Linked DNA regions of Homo sapiens: all the other regions are linked to region 1. The links are contacts of gene promoters, found by promoter capture Hi-C in blood cells and fetal thymus (Javierre and others, 2016). All regions are on one chromosome and are shown on one strand. The core of a region is centred on a gene start or on the middle of the fragment in contact, and the rest is flanking DNA. Distances in the headings are between cores, read along the strand shown. Region 1 holds the start of CLEC4E (C-type lectin domain family 4 member E). Region 2 holds the start of LINC00612 (long intergenic non-protein coding RNA 612). Region 3 overlaps A2M (alpha-2-macroglobulin).

Region 1 (4,233 bases), core at 572-3,071:
TTTCTAGGATTTTACATTTTGCTTTTGAAAAATAAGACCTAATCCAGCTATATCTCACCTGTCCCAAAGTCAATCTAGAAGCCAGAAAATGTTGCTTTGTAAATTTTGATGTTCACCTTTGGGACTATTATACCTGATCCATAATTGTAGCAGGAGAGCTCTGTGAAATTCTCAGGTAGCTGAAACTTTTTCTCATCACAGGTTTGAAAGATGCGAAATGTCACTGTAAAAGAAAGGGCATAATGTTTGTTAGTCTTATTTCGGTTAAAAATGTCAGTTCCCTCAGTTTTGTATTTATAACAAAAGTGCCAATAATTATCATGTTTTTTCTTACAATCTGCTTTTTCTTACGACCCAGAGAAAATAGATATGTTTGCACTACCTCTTATGCCAAGTCCAACTCTCTCTACCCTTCCTTCCAAAAGTAATTAGTCATATCTCTGGTGCCGACCAGTAGTTCAAGCTCTAAGGCAGACTCTCCTAGAGAAGGTTACACTAATGATAGAGGCTGAAAGAGGAGGATTCAGGACTGCCAAGGAAGTGAAAAATGTCTATCATGAAAAGTAAGTCACAGGTGATTAAAATTCAGAAACAGTTCCCTGCTTGTTGAGGTTTCTGGTTTGAGAAATAACCTAGAGATTAATAGGGAAAAAAAAAAGGGTGAAATAGAAAGACCCTTTGAGGGCAAAGAGAGTCTACAGGCAGCATGGAAGAGTTTTCTCCTAATATGCACCAGGAAGAATTAAATTGAATTTGACCTTCAGAACCCACCAACACATCTGGTGATGAAACAGGCACTGAGAAATAGGATGGGGATCCCAGCAACAGTCCATAAGAACATTTGGGAAGAGAAGCATCCTCTCTCTGTAGAAAGAAAGACACAAACATGATCAATCTTCCCTAAGCAAGGTACAAAAGAGATAGAAGAGATTCTTATTCATCCTTACTTATTTCCTTCTACTTCCATTGTTTGTACTGAGTAATTCCCAAATTTCAGCATGCTTCAGAATCACTTGGAGGGTTTATGGAAACACAGATTGCTGACCCTTACCCCCAGAGTTAGCAACTCAGTAGAGTTTGTATGGAACCAACAAGTTCCCAGGGGCTACTGCTGCTGCTGGTCTGAGGACCACACGTTTAGCACCCCTGGAGTAAGACTCTGACTCATGAACTCAGATATACAATTTTTCCTTTCTAAGTCTCTCAGTTAAATTTTTTTCAGTATTTTCTAAGGCCCCCCTTCTTTCTTTTTCTTTCTTTTCCCTTTTCTCGTCTTTGCTTTTCTTGTCCTTCTCCTGATCTTTTTTTTTTTTCTGTGTCTCACTTTTCAAGCGCTTTGTAAATTAGGTAAAATGTTAACAGTCATCTAATAGTTCCTCTCTTCCTCCCATTAAACATTTTACAGACAAAGAGAGTTCCAGAGAAGTGAAGTGACTTGCCAAAAGGGACACAATGTATTGCAGAAAGGGTGGAAACTGATAGCTCTCCCTTAGCTAGAGGCCAGCAGGCTTTCTGGTATAAGAAATAGTCTTTAAATCTCTCTCTCTCTCTTCCTCTGTCCCCCCACTTTTTTTTTTAACTTCAGTGAATACTTTTCTATTGTCCTGTCTTTCACCATATTTATCACTTGTTCCAAAAAGAGATCTATGGAAGGAAAGGAAGAGTTGCAGATTTTACCTGTGCATTGTGTTTCAGATGATTTAGATGAATTCATTTTTTCTCTCTCTTTGGTTTTTTGTTTCTCTCTCTCTCTTTTTCTCTCCCTCCCTCTCTTTCTTTCTCCTCAGGAGTGTTTTGTTGGTAAGATTCAGGGAGAATGAATCTTGAAAGATAAACACTTTGTCTTTTAGGAAGTTCAGCTCCGATAGATGTAGAATATTAACTTGTTCTGTGGCTACGCATTAAGTCAGGATTTCCTTTCTTGCATAAGGAGGACAAGGAAGTTTATTGGACAGCATGTCAGTTCTCTTCACTCCATGTAACAACAAAATGAGGAAATTATGAAATGGTAAGCATCAACACAAATAGGCTAGCCATGGGGAAACAGGAGAGTTTTTTTTTTAAATGTTGTTTCGTTTCGTTGGACCAAATGTCTCTAGTTTCTTCAAGGCATAACTCATCCCCCAGTTTTTCCTTGACAATATGGAGCTCACCTCTGCACTCTGAATTTCACTTTGGATCTGTACCATCCACACATTTGGTAACTGAAAAGAAGACTTAGACAACATAGCACAAAGCTGGGCATATAGTGTATGTATTTAGGACATGGCAACCTGAATTTTTTCATCTTTTTTTTTTTTTTTTTTTTTGAGACAGAGTCTCGCTCTGTCGTCCAGGCTGGAGTGCAGTGGCATGATCTCCGCTCACTGCAAGCTCCGCCTCCCGGGTTCAAGCCATTCTCCTGCCTCAGCCTCCCGAGTAGCTGGGACTACAGGCGCTCGCCACCACGCCTGGCTAATTTTTTGTATTTTTAGCAGAGACGGGGTTTCACTGTGGTCGTCAGGATGGTTTCAATTTCCTGACCTCGTGATCCGCCCGCCTCAGCCTCCCAAAGTCCTGAGATTACAGGCGTGAGCCACCGCGCCCGTCCTCTTTTTCATCTTTTATGGTTTTTCTTTCTTCTTCATTTGCAGCTCTTGAATATTCTAATGTTGTGGATTTATGTCCCTCTTATCTTATGCTGACTACTAGGCTGCTACTACTAGGCTGACTACTAGAGTCCCCCTCAGCAGGACAGCCTCATGTGATTAGACCACTTTGAAACTCAGCTTAGTTTTTCACAACATAACGCAGCTTCTGAAGTCTCAGAGACCCAGCAGGCAGTTTAATTCTCCTGTTCTCAATTATTTGGGGATTTTAGTTCTATGTTACAGCCTACAGTAGGAGAAATGTATTTGAAGGTCAGAAAAAGCAATTTCAATTAGATATTAGAATTTAATGGTTCTCTGGGCCGGGAGCAGTGGCTCATGCCTGTAATTCCAACACTTTGGGAGGCCAAGGTGGGTGGATCATTTGAGGTCAGGAGTTTGAGACCAGCCTGGCCAACATGGTGAAACCCCACCTCTACTAAAAATACAAAAATTAGCCAAGTGTGGTGGCACGCATCTGTAATTCCAGATACTTGAGAGGCTGAGACAGGAGAATAGCTTGATCCTGGGAGGCAGAGGTTGCAGTGAGCCAAAATTGCACCACTGCACTCCAGCCTGGGCGATAGAGTGAGACTCTGTCTCAAAAAAAAAAAAAAAAAAGAATTAATGCTTCTCTGGAAGAATAGTTAGATATGTGCCTTCTCCTTACTTAAAGATACTTAAGAATAAGATCACACTGGTCTCAGTTTATTTAAGTTCACGAGTCAGGAGGCATAAGTATGATGTACATGACTTGGTAAATCCCCACATCCAGTGACTCACGAATTTTCCATGTGTGAGAAAATATTCTTGTTCTCAAAGGGACTTTTTATTATTTCAAGGTACTGGTCAATTTTCTCTGCATTCTCTGTTTTATAGTAATACAATTTTAAAAATATCTTTAAATTATATATGTGTATATTATAGAATATACCCATATTTAATATGTGTATTCTCAGCAAATAGCTTTTGATCAGTAAAAAAAGAGAAACTATCTAGTGGATGAGCTATATGAATTATAAAATGATGAACATAATTACCACAGTCCATCTTTTATTAATTACAATCAACCAGCAACCATCAATATTACTAAACAATTGTATGTTAATTTTTATCAATATACAATTAAACAGAAATCAATAAATTAATATTTTTTCCAGCCAAAATGTTTTTATATCTTTTGTTTCATTGATTTTCCCCAAATTATACGAGTAATATGTTTTATGATTAATACTATGAAAAGCATGTGACAAGTAAAAGCCTTCTTAACTATCCTTAGTGCATTCTTCTAAAGTTGACCATGCTTAATGATTTCTTTTTTGGGGGGGGGGATTAATTTTTATTTATTTTTATTTATCTTTTATTACACTTTAAGCTTTAGGGTACGTGTGCACAACGTGCAGGTTTGTTACATATGCATACATGTGCCATGCTGGTGTGCTGCACCCATTAACTCGTCATTTAGCATTAGGTATATCTCCTAATGCTATCCCTCCCCCCTCCCCCCACCCCACAACAGTCCCCAGAGTGTGATGTTCCCCTTCCTGGGTCCAAGTGTTCTCATTGTTCAATTCCCACCTATGAGTGAGAACATGCGGTGTTTGGT
Region 2 (3,925 bases), core at 1,159-3,658, 520 kb after region 1:
ATATATATACATAATAAATACATTGTATTATACATATATGTATATATTATACATATACATTTATATGTATAATATAGTTGACATATTTATATATTTATATCGGATATATTGTACATTTATAATATATTTATTATATTTTATATTATAGTATATTATCATTTATAATATATTGTTATATGTTATATGATATATATTTATAGCAGACATAGTAAATATCTATTGTGTTAGGTGATTTTTTATACAATATATAAATATATCAGATATATTATACATTTAAACAGTTAAACACCTAAACAGCCCAATTTTATGTGGATCAGTACTACTAACGGCTTAGGGTAAAATGACAGCTACAGCATAACTAGAATGTTAAAGTGGCATGTCTCAGACAACGTGGATGGACATAAAGTATTTGAGAGAATATTGCATAATAGAAAAAAACATTGTAAAGACTAAAATACTAAATAAGACCTTTTTTTCCCGAGCAATAATTTGCCCAGGCTGGTCTCAAACTCTTGGCCTCAAATGATCCTCCTGCCTTGGCCTCCTAAAGCATTGGGATTATAGGCATGAACCACTGCTCCTGGCCAGAATTCTTGATTAAACAATAGGGTCTAAATAAATTTAAACCCCTTTTATTCTTTTTATTCTTACAGGGTAGACTCAAATATTCTATTTCTTTCCAACTTTATATTCTTGTCATAACAACCCAGTATTCTCTGAGGCAAATGGATGCTTATGACCAACTGGCCTGAAATGGGGGAATATAGGGTTAGTGGTGAGTCACATATAAGAAAATGCAAGAGAATAGCAGTGTATCATATTTCAAAATAAAATACAAACTATACATAAAACTGACCCCAACAAGTATCCATTTCATTTCCTGTCGTGTATCTATATGCTTTCCTGGAAAGAATAAACTTCAGTTCACAAAATCAGATGTAGAAGATACATCACTTTTAAAAATTCTACGTAATTTTAATTCCAAGATTCCCATGCCACCAGGCTGGTGGGAAATCCAGTTTAAGTTGTAATTAGGCCTTTTCTCCAGTATTACATATGAATTTGAGTGTAATACCCCAAAACTTGAGAAGGCCATTGTATCTCCAGTCCACTGGGGCAATGAATAGCTTGAGCACCTGATCATTATAATGACCCAGATGTGTATCTTTTTCTTTTACTCTGCGGTGAGTTTTTCTAAGGGAGGAATCCTATTTTGTTTAATTTTGTATTATAGCATGGGATATTGTGCCTGGCAGATAGTAGGCAATCAGTTAGTATTTCAGGAATAAACACTCTTGGTCAGTGATACAGCTAATGATTTGCAACAAGCATATCCTTAAAGTACCTTTTCAGTAACGATTTCCATATGAACAAAGAAAAAAACTAGAACCAAGAGGTAAAATTATAATCCTGTTGTCTTGTTCCCATAGCCATACTCTGATTTCTTTTATGTTCTGTGCCCTGGCTTGATACTTAATTTGACAGCTAATTATAATGTTTATTAAGCTCTGAAATATACTTTCTCCTGGCCTTTTTGTCTGAAGTTGTTTGAGGTGTCACCATGGTTGGAAGTTAAGAGCATGGAAGCTAGACTTCTTGGTCTTGAATTCTAGCTTTGTCACTAACTTAGTAACTTTGGGCAAATTACATGTCTCTGCTTCAATTTCATTTGTTAAGGTAGTACCTATTTCACAAGGCTGATGGTGGCAGCAGTGGGGCGTCCAGAGCTGCCGCTGCCATCACGCCAGCTGCAGCAGGGAGGGGCGGGCAGCGGCGGCGGAGCAGCTGCGGGAGCCGCAGTGGCTGCTGTGGGACATCTGTGCCTCGCGTCCCCTGTGCCTTGAGACCCCAAAGCAGCCGACTGCGCCGCCACCATCCTCGCGTTGCCGGGTGGGGCGACGTGCTCCCCGGCCAGGAGCCTCCACCGCTCCGGACCCTGGCCCTATGTCGCCGCTCTCGCCCGCCGCCGCCGCGGAGTGGGAGTGGGGAGGAGGGGAACAGTCCTTGGAGCCGGCCCCGGGAGTACTCCCGGAGCCTGCCGCCCTGGAAGCCGCCACGATGGACCGGGCTGAGTCGCCCGCCGGAGGGGAAGCAGTGTAGTCGGGCACGGAGGGGCAGGCAGAGAGGGGCCCCAAGGCGGAGCTGGGTCCGGGGCGGAGCGGTGTTCGCACACAAAGCGCTGGGGCTGGACCCAGGGTTCGGGGCCAAGGCGAGAAGTGGGAGCGGGGCCCGCTTTGGGGACCCGGACAGCGGTGTGGCCACCGCGCACACCTCCGACAGCGCCGCATTCCTGGGCCTTGGGAGGAGGCTCTGAGTAGGGCCGCCTGGGGCGCGTCTTCAGGGTCCTCCCGGCACTGGGGTGACCGCCGAGCTAGACGCGCCTGAGGGCTGAGCCCCAGGGCTCGTGATCTGCTCCCGGAGGCGCCCCCCAGGCAGGGCCGTGAGCCGGGCGAGGGAGAGTCCTGGGCTGCCCCTGAGCCCCGGGGCCACGGGAAGAACTTGCAGCGACGTCATCCCTGCCCCGGACACAGTCCCGGGCCCAGGGAGGACCTGGAACATTCCCTTCCTCCCCCCCCCCCCCCCCGCCCCCGCCCATCAGCCCAGCCTGCAAGGAGGCGCCACCGGACCTGCACACTCAGGAGCAGGTGAGCCAGGGACAAGCAGGAGCCCCGCCCCTTCCGAACTGGTGGAGCAGGAGCTCCCAGGGTGCAGCTGCAGCCACCTTGCCGCGGCTGTGGACATTTTCTGTGCTCTCAGAGGCCCAGCAAAGTCCCCTGCCCACTGCAGGCTCCAGGGTGCCTACTCCGGCTGCCTGGCTTCTCTCCACTGTTAGCACCCACTCTGAACTCAGAGCAAGGTCGGGCCGAGCCTGGGTACTGTCACAGCCTGGCCGAGCGTGCACACGCTCAGGACAGTGCTGATACGCCAGCCCCCTGCCGTCTCGGCCCCCTTTGGAACTTGGGCACCAACAAGCGTGGGAGGGAGGCTGAGAGGGGTCTGAAGACAGCTGGACACTGACTTGCAGGCGCTCCTTGGCATGAACAGCCTGGGAGCAGGAGGCAGACAGGTTCCTGGGTGGAAGGGGATGGGTCCCCAGTGAAGTCCCACCCTCAAGCTGGTGAGGGCTTGAAGCCTGCAGACCAGAGAGGTAACTTGTGGTGCTGCTCCCTGGGCCCACTCATGGCTGCCCATGGACCAATCAGCATGCATTTCCTCCCTCTGAGGCTCATAAAATCCCCCAGACTCAGCTAGATTGGAAGAGAGGATGGGAAGACAATGGATGACCTACCTGTGGAGAGAAACTACCCATTCCAGAACCTCCTCTCTGCTGAAAGCTGAACACTCAATGGGAAGACCTGTTTGCAGAGAGGAGCCAGCCACTCCAGGGTCTCCGTTCTGCTAGAAGCTGAACACTCGTTGGGACACCCTTGCTGTGGAAAGGACATCCTTACTGTGGAAATGAGCTACTAACTGCAGGTCTCCTTCCTCTTCATCTTCCTTATCCTTCTGTTCCATTGCTCAGTAATGCTCCTCTTCATCTGTCTCATTCTCCACTTGTCTGCTTGATGCAGGAGCTGAGGAGCTGCACAGCAAGGTTAAAAGAGCTGTAACACAAACAGGGCTGCAACATGCCCCTTGCTCCCCACAGGGAGAGAAGAGCTCTGGCCCTCGGAGAAGCCCAGACCTGGGAGCTCCTTGAGCCCGGGCTGTGACTCCCTCTTTGGGGCCCTGGTTGGCGTCACTGCATTCGCCAGTGCCACTGTTGGAAGCTGCTTGTGATGCGCCTGGTCCAGGGGGAAGCTGTTTGTTGTGTGCCTGGTCCAGCCACCTCATGGAGAGCCTGTGCTGGCACCTGGAGCTGCCCAACCTGGGCAGCAGCTTGTGTGTGTGACTGCACAGTGGCCACGCTTGCTCACACACCCCT
Region 3 (3,984 bases), core at 14-2,513, 560 kb after region 1:
AACTTTAACCGTAAAATTCTAGGCATGATGCTTTCAAGTCCATTTGAAGGTGAGAAGTAAGACAGACATAAAAATTGTGATAGTTACATTGCATTATATTCGTAGGAGTTTAAAACTGATTGACAAGAACAGATGAGCAAAGTGAGTGGTGTGATGAAATTAGACACTTTCTCAAAGTATCTTAACATTTCTCATTTCCTCTCCCTGCTTTTATTGTGGCATATTGCATAATTATTGTCTGTCTCATCTATGGGACAGACAATGTAAGTTCCATGAGACATACATTTTTATCTTTCCAGTAGCTCACTGCTTGATCTCTACTAGCACTTAGTATAATACCTAGAACACAGTGGGCATTAAATAAATGTGTTGAATGAATGACCTACACTAGTAGCAGCAAAGTGTTTCATTGGTAAGACACTAATCAAAGCTTGAGAAGAGTTGGTGTTTTAACTCAGGTCTACTACTAAATCCCTGAAAGCTTCTGCTTTATTATTAATAAATAGGACTGTCTGCCTTATCTACCCATCAGGGTTGTTATAATTTGAAAAATTCTTTGAGAATTATAAAATTATATTATAAAAGTATAAAACATGTATATTATTTTCCCACATATCCTCTTGAGATCCTACTGTTGAAATGTACTTGATGCTTCCTTTAGAAGTATTCTAATATTTTCAGTTAAAATCCCATTAGAAGGACAAACAAGTAAGAAACATTTTTTTATAAGTTTCTATTTCAGGAAAATAAAAATATAAATTTCTCTTTGTTAAATTATGGTAGTAGAAAAAGCTTCAGTAAGAGGTTATTACAATTGGTCTCATATTAAAAATTTGAAGATGTGAGCAAACTACTATTAGTACATGCTATTAACTAGTTTTTGTTGTTCCAATTCAGCATATCCTTTTGGTATTTCTTCTATTAGCTCCATATTTTCAAAGAGTTCAGTTATCAATGTCAATTATATAGTAGTTCAATTTCCCTAAGTTTTGTTCCTCAGAGATAATACATATGTTCCCTCAGAAATTATGTGTAGCTTGGGACAGCAATTATTTCAACTGATGTAATTCTTTTTTTTTTTTTTTTTTTGACACCAAGTCTTGCTCTATTGCCCAGGCTGGAGTGCAGTGGCACGATCTCGGCTCACTCAACCTCTGCCTCCTGGGTTCAAGTGATTCTCCTGCCTCAGCCTCCTGAGTAGCTGGGATGACAGGCGCCCGCCACCACGTCTGACTAATTTTTGTATTTTTAGTAGATACGGGGTTTCATTATATTGGCCAGACTGGTCTCAAACTCCTGATCTCAAGTTATCTGCCTGCCTTGGCCTCCCAGTGTTGGGATTACAGGCGTGAGCCACCAGGCCCAGCCATAATTCTTATAAAAACGGAAATCTGATATTTCATTTAGCCTGTATAGCCTCAGTGCAGGTATATGTATCACTTTTGTTAGGCTTTTTGAAATGTTGAAACTAGTTTGACAACTCCTATTACTGGTTGCATGGAGCTCTGGGATTTTAAGGACTTTGGGTACTGTATGGTCTTTTTACATTTTAAATATATAATTTTCGAACGGCTTCCCCGGTTGCTCAGTTAATCCTTTCTTTTATTTTGCATAACTGCACTTCTCATATAGCACTTTTCACAATCTGCTCTGTATTCTCTCCAGCCTTGCATATACGGATGTCCTGACACAATCAGAAGATTTGAATTTGTATTGCTATGTGCTCTTGAGCAAGAAGCTTAACGTGTCTGAATAACGAGTCCTTTTTTGGTTGTTAATTTTCATCACATTTTGTCCTTTTAAAAATTCTTTTATTTGATTCAATATATTGTATTTTGTTTATTTTTTTAACTGCAGAAGTGAGTAGTTATATATATATATATATATAATTCCTTACCAATGAAAGCCCACAAGAGAGCTCAAAGCAATTAATTCCTAGATAAATATAATTTTAATTGATCTTATCCTACTTATCCAGTCATTTTTCCTTGCTCTGAGCCCCTGGCACGGCCCTTCTTGATTCCTGAGGCTGCCAGGAACTCACCGAGGACGCCGAGAGCTCAGCATCAGGCTTCATGAGCAGCACGCTTTGGTCCACAGCACGGAGGGCGCAGACGGACTGAGGAGCCGCTGTGACTCGCAGGTGGGCGTGTGAGGCTGGGAGACTTTGTGATGGGCTGAAGCTCAAATCCACCTGTGAAATTGGAACAAAAGGTCAGAAAAGCAAATTTCCAGGTTTACCCATGCATTCACTCGCATTTGCAGAGTGTTCCTCATGTACAATGTATAACCACTCTGCTTGACTTCGTGGAGGGTTGGCATTGTGTCAATCCTGAAGCTTTTTGTTCCCTACACTTCTCTTTCATTCTCAAGAATCACTTGAGCCAGTAGAATTATTTCTAATTATTCTTATAAATTACTAGTCATGAAATGCCATTTTTATCTTTGATACACGGCAAGGTGCTCATTAATTGTGGTGGGACATGCATGGGTCTAGGTGCTCTTGCATTTTTCTTTTGGCTCCTTAGTAGTCTTAAAAACTTGCTTACATATTTCCCAACGTTTCATCATAGAAGAAGGGAATAACATACTCTGAACTGTGTAATTGGTAAGAGGCACTGCTAGGAGAAGTTTGAGAGTTTTGTATAAGGAATCAAGTGATTCTGCTTCTTAGTGTGACTCTGCCACTACCTTGCTGAATGTCTCTGGGGAATTTGTTTAACCCTTTTGGCCCTAATGTTCACATGTGTAAAACAAATGATAACAATAGTAACTTCTAGTTTTACATGTTGAAGATTTTATGATCTAAAACACACACCTTGTTGGCCAGACAATTTTCAACATCATATTTTGCAGAATCCCCAATCACGTCCCCGGTAGGTAAAACAGCATAGATGAGCAACCGAGCGACAGGAGCAATGTCTGACTTCACAGGGATTGAGATGGAAAAATGGCCCTTCACTGGGGCACAAAGAGAATGAGAGGAAGCCATCATAGGTTAATGACTATTTCCATTAGTAGATGTAACAGACATAATAAACAGTAGATGTAACAAATGGATGATTACCTCTAAGGACTCTAGCTTTAGAAAAAAACCCTATCAAAGCCCTCTCTCCTCTCATAAATCATATACTCTGTTGATTTTTCACCAGCTTTAAGCTTCAGCTCACCCACCTAATGTTCTGATGCTAGTTAAGGGTATGAAGACATCCAATTCACTACCATTTGATCTAGGCCTCATACTAGAAGAGGGAAATAGAACCTGAAGTTATGAGATGTAAGAGTAAGAGTTCAACACATTGTATTCATGCTACATGCTCTTTAACCTTCTATGAGCCAATATTTGGTTCTTTCTCCATAAGAGGAACACCATGCTCCTTCAGAAGTTATTTTTTGATGCCTATGTAGATTCTTTAGAGGTTGCATTAAGTTTCCTTCAGTCTGCTATGGTGCTTCTGTGTTGCTACAAGAACTAATGAGAGAGTAGATTACTGATACTTTTCTAGCAAGTTATCTTTTAGAGTCTACTAGACTAGGAGCAACCTTCAAAGGTTTATATTATGACATATTTGCTCATGGCAAGAGTCCGCTTCAGTCGGTAGAAGTACCCAATTTAATGCTTCATAAATCATAACTATCTTGAAAGGGAAAAAAGATATTTATAATAATATAAATGACATAAATGACTCAGCACAAGACCTGGTATATACAACATACCTTGAAATCGTACATTTTCTCCACCCCATTCTCTAACACAATTCTCATTTTGAGAAGAGGTTCAAGAATATTTATGGTTTAAAAATCTGGAATAAGCATAGATTATACACAACAATATTTTATGTATTTTATTTTTCCCCCTTTGTTCTTATTTATTTATTTATTTATTTATTTACTTTTATAGAGATGGGGTCTCACTATGTTGACCAGGCTGGTCTCAAACTCCTGACCTCAAGAGATCCTCCCATCCCGTTCTCCCAAAGTACT

What was found. The method cuts DNA at HindIII sites, captures the fragments that hold promoters and counts their contacts. A CHiCAGO score of 5 or more calls a contact.
Region 2: a fragment that was not itself captured here is called in contact with the fragment with the promoter of CLEC4E in region 1 in 2 of 17 cell types (total B cells and erythroblasts); the score reaches 5.1 in total B cells.
Region 3: a contact is called between a fragment that was not itself captured here and the fragment with the promoter of CLEC4E in region 1, in 4 of 17 cell types (erythroblasts, total CD8 T cells, non-activated CD4 T cells and 1 more). The highest score is 7.0, in erythroblasts.

Annotation. Positions count from the first base shown.
Region 1 is chr12:8,539,084-8,543,316 of GRCh38, forward strand. It overlaps CLEC4E (C-type lectin domain family 4 member E), which reads right to left and starts at 1,822. Exons shown (of 6, transcript NM_014358.4): 1 at 1,678-1,822; 2 at 772-864; 3 at 134-223. The coding sequence starts at 1,714. The HindIII fragment of the contact is 5,761 bases long and covers 1-4,000 here.
Region 2 is chr12:9,062,584-9,066,508 of GRCh38, forward strand. LINC00612 (long intergenic non-protein coding RNA 612) reads right to left here and starts at 2,487. Exons shown (of 3, transcript NR_034140.1): 1 at 1,685-2,487. A2M-AS1 (A2M antisense RNA 1) reads left to right here and starts at 2,594. Exons shown (of 2, transcript NR_137425.1): 1 at 2,594-2,645; 2 at 3,243-3,925. It also overlaps a transcript of KLRG1 not described here. RefSeq lists silencers at 1,823-1,872, 1,933-1,982. The HindIII fragment of the contact is 7,774 bases long and covers 1-3,925 here.
Region 3 is chr12:9,096,563-9,100,546 of GRCh38, forward strand. A2M (alpha-2-macroglobulin) reads right to left here. Exons shown (of 36, transcript NM_000014.6): 14 at 2,819-2,961; 15 at 2,045-2,194. It also overlaps a transcript of KLRG1 not described here. Among named protein-coding and RNA genes, the nearest start is that of A2M, 17 kb to the right of the region's middle. The HindIII fragment of the contact is 946 bases long and covers 791-1,736 here.